Linked DNA regions of Homo sapiens: regions 2 and 3 are each linked to region 1. Evidence: promoter capture Hi-C in 16 types of primary human blood cells and fetal thymus (Javierre and others, 2016). All regions are on one chromosome and are shown on one strand. The core of a region is centred on a gene start or on the middle of the fragment in contact, and the rest is flanking DNA. Distances in the headings are between cores, read along the strand shown. Region 1 holds the start of SUN5 (Sad1 and UNC84 domain containing 5). Region 2 overlaps EFCAB8 (EF-hand calcium binding domain 8). Region 3 overlaps BPIFB3 (BPI fold containing family B member 3).

The links. Contacts are between HindIII fragments. The CHiCAGO score rates a contact against its expected background, and 5 or more counts as called.
Region 2: a contact is called between a fragment that was not itself captured here and the fragment with the promoter of SUN5 in region 1, in 4 of 17 cell types (activated CD4 T cells, non-activated CD4 T cells, total CD8 T cells and 1 more). The highest score is 6.4, in activated CD4 T cells.
Region 3: a contact is called between a fragment that was not itself captured here and the fragment with the promoter of SUN5 in region 1, in 1 of 17 cell types (megakaryocytes). The highest score is 5.5, in megakaryocytes.

What each region holds. Positions count from the first base shown.
Region 1 is chr20:33,003,163-33,005,862 of GRCh38, forward strand. SUN5 (Sad1 and UNC84 domain containing 5) reads right to left here and starts at 1,271. Exons shown (of 13, transcript NM_080675.4): 1 at 1,102-1,271. The coding sequence starts at 1,178. The HindIII fragment of the contact is 1,549 bases long and covers 2-1,550 here.
Region 2 is chr20:32,944,935-32,947,634 of GRCh38, forward strand. The region is part of intron 23 of EFCAB8 (EF-hand calcium binding domain 8); the gene reads left to right. Among named protein-coding and RNA genes, the nearest start is that of SUN5, 58 kb to the right of the region's middle. The HindIII fragment of the contact is 687 bases long and covers 1,003-1,689 here.
Region 3 is chr20:33,066,811-33,069,510 of GRCh38, forward strand. It overlaps BPIFB3 (BPI fold containing family B member 3), which reads left to right. Exons shown (of 16, transcript NM_001376932.3): 10 at 14-67; 11 at 1,993-2,163. Among named protein-coding and RNA genes, the nearest start is that of BPIFB4, 11 kb to the right of the region's middle. The HindIII fragment of the contact is 194 bases long and covers 1,156-1,349 here.

The DNA of each region.
Region 1 (2,700 bases), core at 21-2,520:
AAGCTTGGTTTTGTTCCTTTGTCTGCTCCTACCCAATGTGATTTTAGGCCATTTTGATTGGTCGAAGCCTGCTGTCGTGCTCCCATTCCCTGTGCTGTGATTGGTTCAAGGGTGAGGAAGTCTGCAGGGGTGAGGTAGGGTGAGGTAGGGGGGTGGTTACGAGGTAAGGGACTTGGGGGAAAAGTTAGGTTTAGGATTAGCTAAATGAGACCCACAGAAAACGATGCTTATTCTCCTTCCCCTAGACGCCACATTTCTGCGTGACACCTGAAACTGTGGTGGCCATCTTGTGACCATGAGAGGGGGCTAAAAGAGCAGAATGATGACAGGAACCTGGGTCTTGGGTGGCAGAACTGAGGAATTAACACACTCCGGAGCCCCCTGCACCTTGGGACCTCTTGATATGTGAGATTTAAAATTTTCCCTTATTTCTTAAGTCAAAGGTCTTTAAACATTTTTGTTTATACCACCTCAGAGTATTTATATTGGTTTATTAATAAATTATATATACACCCAATTGTACTAATACATTGTTTACCCTTCCCAAATGTACAGATTTATGGTAACATTCCTGAATAATATAAATTAAAAGAGGATGAAAGACATACATTCTAGCCTGGTTATTTCTTTTCTCACCCTTGGGGATTGTTTGGTATACTCTCTTGGGATATACACCCAGATTTGGGTGCCCAGAGATAGGCATCATTTTAAGTTGGAATTTCTGTCACCTGCATTCAGAGGCTTTCTGACAGATAAAGATGGCGAAATACTTGTTTCCTTCTTTCATACCAGTCTCCTGCACTAGACCGTGAGCTCCATGAGGGAACGGAGCACATCAGACTGGTGCCACACCGTGTTCCCCGTCCTCTGTGCATTTCCCGGCACACAGTAGATGCTCAATAAATGCGTGCTGGAAGGATGGCTGCTTCACCACTTCCTGGCTGGGAGACTTTGGGAATACCACTGCCAAACCTCTCTGGTCTTGGTGGCTGTCTCTGTACAGTACAGTTGACAATGCCACTCATCTCCAAGGACAGGGTGGAGGGGCAGCATTTTGTAAACTGTAAAGGGCTGGGCAAAGGGAGGGGCTGCCATCCTCACCTCCGGGGTCTGGGATTGTGGGCCACATCTTCGAGTAGGGCGCCTGGGTCCCCAGGGCTCCTTGAGGACCGTGGCATCGATTTCCTTCTTTAGGATTGGGGATGGAGATGGGAACTCTGGGAGCTGGTGAGGAGGAAGGGGCTGATGCCTCTGAATGTCCCCTGAAAAGTGCCAAGTGGAATCTGCCAGGATCAGTGGAGCAGTTGGCATTGTGACCTCACAGAGCAGGTGGGTGGAGGGGCAGGGGATGGGGCTAGTCTCCAGCTTGGCCCTAGAACCTCCCCCAGAGGAAGCCATTGTGACCCACTTTCCTTTCTTAAGATGGGGAAATTGAGGCATCAAGACAGGAAGGGCCATGCTGGGGTCTCAGAAGCTGGACAGGGGCGAGAGCTGAAGCTCCAGTAACCCAACCATGCTTTTCCTTGTTTCCTAGATCCCTTCCTGCCCCAAGCTTCCCAGGCTTTTCACCTTCTTAGGTTGCACCTGAATGCATTTTGTAATGCTGAGCTTCTCACTGGTGGACATTGTGCATAACACAAAATAACATTGCATGTGTTGTTGCTTTAATAAAGTTCTACTTTTTGTTGGGCCCGGTGGTTGATGCCTGTAATCCTAGTACTTTGAGAGGCAGAAGCGGGTGGATTGCCTGAGCTCAGGAGTTTGAGACCTGTCTGGGCAACATGGCAAAACCCCTTCTCTACTAAAAATACAAAAAATTGGCTGGGTGTGGTGGTGTGTGCCTGTAATCCCAGCTACTCGGGAGGCCGAGGCTTGAGAATTGCTTGACTCGGGAGGCGGCAGAGGTTGCCGTGAGCAGAAATCGCGCCATTGCACCCAGCCTGGGCAACAGAGTGAGACTCTATGTCCAAAAATAAAGTTCTACTTTTTTACTGGGGAAAATAAAAGCATAACCGAGTGGAAATGTCGGGCTAAGTTTTTTCTGTTCACCCTGCCTGTAGGGAGCTTGACTATTTGGATAGCAAAGCTAAAATGAATTCACTTTTGCCCCCTGGTGGCAGTTGCTTAAAATTGCAGGCTAATTACCAATGGGAAGTGGTACGATGGTCCCTCAAAGAGGCCCACACACTAAAACCTGAACATGTAAATATGTTAAGTCACAAGGCAAAAGGGAGTTAAAACTAGAAGAGCAATTTAAGTTGCTAATCAGTCGATCTTGAGATGGGAAGAATACCCTAGATTACCCATGTGGGTGCAATGTAATGACAAGGGTCCTTAAAAATGGAAGAGGGAGGCAGGGAGATGGCAGCACAAGAAGCACTCAGCCCAACATGCTGGCTTTGAAGATGGAGGAAGGGACCAGGAGCCAAGGAATAAGGGCAGCTTCTAGAAGCTGGAAAAGGCAGGTGGACAATTCCTCTCCTACAGCCTCCAGCAAGGAACACAGCCCTGCCAATACTTCCTTGATTTTAGCCCAGGGAGACCCATCTGGGACTTCAGACCTCCAGAATGGTAACATGATAAATTGTGTCTTAAGTCACTAAGTTTGTGATAATACATTATTGCAGCAACAGGACACCAATGCAAAACCCCTGAGAATATTCAGTGAAGGGGAAACTCTGAAATGCCACCACTACAATT
Region 2 (2,700 bases), core at 96-2,595, 58 kb before region 1:
TCTAGTACTACCATAATGCATATATTGTCCATTTGACGATGTCTCATAAATCCCTTAAGTTTTCTTTACTCTTTAAAATTCTTTTTTCTTTTTTGCTTCTCTGACTGGATATCTTCAAGTCTGCTGATTTTTCCTTCTGCTTGATCAAGCCTGCTGTAGATGACTTTTGAATTCAATTATTTTACTCTTCATCTTCAGCTCTAGAATTTCTGTTATTTTTATTATTATTATTATTATTTTTTGAGACAGGGTCTTGCTCTGCCACCCAGGGTTGAGTGCAGTGGCACGAATTCAGCTCACTGAAGCCTTGACCTCCCAGCCTCAAGTGATCTTCCCACAGCCTCCTGAGTAGCTGGGACTACAGGTGCATGCCATCATGCCTGGCTAATTTTTTGTATTTTTTGTAGAGACAGAGTTTCACCATGTTGCCCAGGCTGGCCTTGAATTCTTGAGCTCAAGTGATCGCCCACCTAAGCTTCCCAAAGTGTTGGGATTATAGGTGTGGGCCACCATGGCTGGCCTCTGTTTGGTTCTTTTCTATATTTTCTGTGTCTTCACTAATATTCTCAGTTTGTTCATGTATTGTTTCCCTGAGCTTGTTGAGCATTTTTATTACGGTTACTTAGAATTCTTTGTCAAATAATTAATATACCTCAATTTCTTTAGCGGCAGTTTCTGGAGATTTATTTTGTTCCTTTGGGCCATGCTTTCCTATTTTTTTTGTGTGCCTTATAACTTTATATTGGGATCCATGCATTTGTAAAATCAGCCACCTCTCCCAGTCTTTATATACTGGCTTCATTCAGGGAAAATTCTGCACCAATCAGCTTGGCTAAAGATTCTGGGTGCCTCCCCAATCTTTTTTGTGGATACTTTCACCAGACTTACGCATGTAAATTCGCAATTACAGGAATCTACAGGTTTATTTTTTTCAGGAGTCCATTATCTCTTGCTCTCTCTGGTGTCTATTTGCAGTACTGCAAGTTCTCTAGAGCGGCTACAAGCTTCCCCCAGGCCTCTAGAATATGCTGGGTCCTTCAATAGTCTGAGAGAGGCAAGACAGAAACCAGTTTCTTGGGTACCCCTCAAAGGCTAACATTGGATATGTATGCTCCAAATCTGCCTCCTCAAGGAGAAGCTGGAAGTTGGGTTGTTTTCTCTACTCATTCCACAGAGCGGCAGGAGGGACTCTGATAGTGTGTGCTAGTCTAAATTGTCACCTTTGTTCTTAGTAGCCCAGTCTGGTGCCTCTTCCTGTCAGTGCTTAGATTCAGGCAAGACAGAAACTGGTTAATCATGCAGCCCTCTGAAAAGTCTGCATGTTGGATGTACATCTCAGTCTTTCCCTCCCAGGGAGAAGCTGGAAGCTGGTGGTTCCTTCCCAATCTGCTTCACTGAGCCAGGAGGAGGGATTACAAGTGAGCACTATGAATTTTCCTACTGGCTTCAGTGCAGCTGGTTTTTTGTTTTTTGTTTTTTTGGTTTTTGTTTGTTTGTTTTTTCATTCATCTGGGATGAATGGTCCTGGTTTCTGGTCCATGTACTGTTGTTCAGTCAGTGTCTCCATAGGGAGAAGGAAGTTCTGGATCTTCCTATTCTACCATCTTGCTGATGTCACCCATTTTTTTGTATCTTTCAAAGACGTCTTTGACTATCCCCTAAATATAATATCTAGTGTTATCTTTTAGAAGCTTGTTTTAAAAATCAGATTTCTGAAGTATAATTTACATCCAATAAAAGCACCTTTTAAAAGTATATAGTTCTGTGAGGTTTCATGAATGCATACAATTGTGTAATTGGTATCACAATCAAGACATAGACATTACCCCAAAAAGTGACCTCATGTCTCCTCATAGTAAACTCTATTTCCTTCTCCTAACCCCTGGCAGCCATTGATCTGTTTGTCTCTATAGTTTTGCCTTTTCCAGATTATCATAAATGGAAACATACACATGTAGCTGAGTGAAAGTCTAACTTTCACTTAGCATAATCAATTTGAGATTCATCTTTGTTGTTGAACGTATCAGTAGTTTGTTCTTTTTATTGCTGAGTATTATTCCACTGTATGGCTCTGTCATAGTTTGTTAATCCATTCACCAATTATAGGACATTTGAGTCATTGTCAGTTTTGGATGATTATGAATGAAGCCGCTTTAAACATTGTTTTCATTTCTGTTGGGTAAGTATTTAGAAGCAGAATGGCTGGGTTGTATGGTAAGTGTATTGAAACTTTATGAAAAATGACCAAACTGTTTTGCATTTCTACCTTTGTGTCTTCATCAACATTTGGTGTTTGATCTGTTATTATTTTAAATTTTAATAATCTATGATTGTAGCATGAGATTTCAATATTCTCTCAATTTATAAAACAACTATACAGAAAATCATTAATGATATAGAATACTTGAATAACACTATCAAACAATTTTACTTAATTAACATTTATAGATCATTCATAAACAAACATTATTTTTAAGTGCACACAGAACATTAATTAAACCGACCATATTCTGGTAACAAAACACATCTCACTAATCTCAAAAGGATTTATGCCATACAAAGTATGTTCTCTGATCCCAATGAAACTGAATTATAAATCAAAAACAGAAATATCTTTGAAATATCCCTAAATATTTGGAAGCTAAATGACACATTTCTAAATAACCCATGGGCCAAAAAAAGAAATCCAGAGGGAAATTA
Region 3 (2,700 bases), core at 3-2,502, 64 kb after region 1:
ATTGGGGGTCCAGGTTCCCAGCGATGTCCCACTGACAACTACAGACCTGGCAGCTTTGCTCCCTGAGGTGAGTGACGCTCTCATGGGTTTTGATCATTGTAGCTCTTTCCTGATGACCATGAATGGAGTCCAGAATCTTTCTCAATACAGCTCTCCAGGCAACTGCAATTGAACAGTTGAGTCCAAATTCACACTAAAGTGTGAATGACTAACACGACATCCTTTCCTGATAGCAGATTTTGCTTAGAGAGTAAAGGATTAGGGCTTGACTGCCCCAGAAATCAACTGGGCATTTATCCTATGGAAATTGTTTCTGTAGCACACAAGGACAAAAGTCTTTTCAGGTTACTGAGCTCCCTTCTACCAACTGGCTTACTTCATCCTGACCTTAGTCTTCAATGTCCCCAGAGAAAAGACTAGGGCACTTGTCTTGGAGAGGAAAGAAAAGGGAGAGTGTCAGGTAGGTCTCACTAGTGGACATAAGTACATGACTTCCAGGCCAGGCCTCAGCTTTCCCATCCTTCAACTGGGGCTGGACCAGCTGCTTTCCAGCTGTGAGAACTGGAATTCGTACTGAAGTTAAAATGTCTACTACAAGGTCCTTATGTAACAGCAGGTTCTGAAAGAGGTTGGAAAGAGGCCTAGGGGCCTGGGCTCTCACCAGAGAGGATGGAAATGAAAGCTGGGTTTGGGGGCACAGAGGACAAACTCTGTGAGTTCTTGAAGTTGGTGATTCAAAGCAGTCTGGATGAATGAGGTCGGGGCCTCAGCTTTCCAGAGTCCCTTGGCTAAAGGGCATAGGAGCCTCATGGAAGGGATGCGATTGGAGTCAGACATTCAGAAGAACCTCCAGAGAGTAGGAGTGGAGAGGGACATGGGGCAAGTGGAGTTGGCTGGGGCAGGGGTATCCAGAAGCAGCAAGCTGGGCCTGCCCCTCCAGCATGGGGAAGCTGGGCTTGTCTCTGGAGGCTGAATCCTTTGGTCTCCATTTGCTGGCCTCGCAGCTTTAGAGCCCCATGTGGCTTCAGATTCTGTGGCATGTGAGGGTGGAATCAGGTGATTCCTGGTCCTGATGATCCTGCCCCTTAGGGATTCTGGGCTTGAGGAAACCTAGACTCAAATTCCAGCAGGCAAGGGACATACTTATGTGTTCCAAGCTTCTGTGGTTCTGTAATTTCCTTAGTCTCATGACGTTGCAATTATGAGACTCAGAATTTCCTGATTGTGTGCCTCATTTAGGCAGTCAGCGTATATCCACTGAGCACCTACTGTGTAACAGGCCCTGCAATGGAACAAGGGCATACCTGCAGCTGGGGCTGCACAAAGGGCAAAAGGTGAAAGGAGAGAAAAGCTTCTGCACTCAAGGGGTTGCCATTCTGCTGGAGGTGACAGACATTGCACAAATAAACAGAAACAGAGACAGTGTCAGAAGGTGGAAGAGCATGGAGTGGCGAAGCTGGCTTAGGAGTGCTGGCTGGTGCTTTTAGACATGGTGCTTTGCAAGGCCTCAGTGAGGAGGTAACATTTGAGTGAAGGAGGTGAGTGAGGGAACTTTGCAGTTCTCTGGGAAGATATTTCCAGGCAGAGGGAGCAGCAAGTGCAAAGGCCCTGGCGCCTGCTGGGAGCATCCCTGGCAGCTGGAGGAGCAGCCACGTGGCCAGTGAGTCTGGAGGGAGAACGCAGGGCAGCAGCGGGAGGAGAGCAGGTGAAGTGGAGAGGCGGGCAGGGGATGGAGGACACAGAGCCTATGGCCTCGGGGAGGATTCTGACTCTGCTTGAGACAGGAAGTCTGATTTGGCAGTCCTGCAGGTCGGTGTCTCCACACCTGAGTGTCAGCCTCATGGGGGCTGAGCCCAGGCCTGTGTCTTTCAGGCTGTAACCTCGTTGCCCAGCACGTTGCCCAGTGCCTGGTAGGTGCTTAGTGAGTGTTTGCTGACTGACTGACTGATTGTAGTCCTGGGGCATCTAAGTTATGCCCCTGCATTTCTCCAGGCCCTGGGGAAGCTGCCCCTGCACCAGCAACTCCTACTGTTCCTGCGGGTGAGGGAAGCTCCCACGGTCACACTCCACAACAAGAAGGCCTTGGTCTCCCTCCCAGCCAACATCCATGTGCTGTTCTATGTCCCTAAGGGGACCCCTGAATCCCTCTTTGAGCTGAACTCCGTGAGTGGTCAAGGGGTGGCTGGGGGCCCGGCATTGGGGTTCCAAATGGGGGTGACTGTCTCCAGGACTGTGGAGGTACCGTCCCCCTGATTTCAGGGTGGGAGCCCCACATAGTCCAGCACAGGAAGCCCCCCGCCCCACAACCACTGTCATCATCTGGGCTGAGACCCAAGCCCCTGCTTCAGTTCCTGCCTGCTCCCTCCTGTCATGTCTGCCTGGGCCTGTTTGGGCTGCCCACACTGCTTCTTGGGGATCTCAGACGTTGCTCCCCATCTCCCCAGCCTCTCTGCCCAGCTATCTCCCTGACGACCCTCCAGCTTCCTCTGACCCTCCCGCTCCAGTCAGCTTCCTCCATCGCACCTCTGCACACATCTGGACCGAGGCAGGCCCCTCCCCCTATCCTCCACCTTGGCTCCCCATGGCCAAACACCTGAGCCTGACATTCATTGTCCTTCTGCCCCATCCTTGCCTTGCCCGTCCTTGTCCCCTAAGCCTCAGCTACTCAGGTCTACCAGGTCCTCCCTCCCTGGCTTGTCT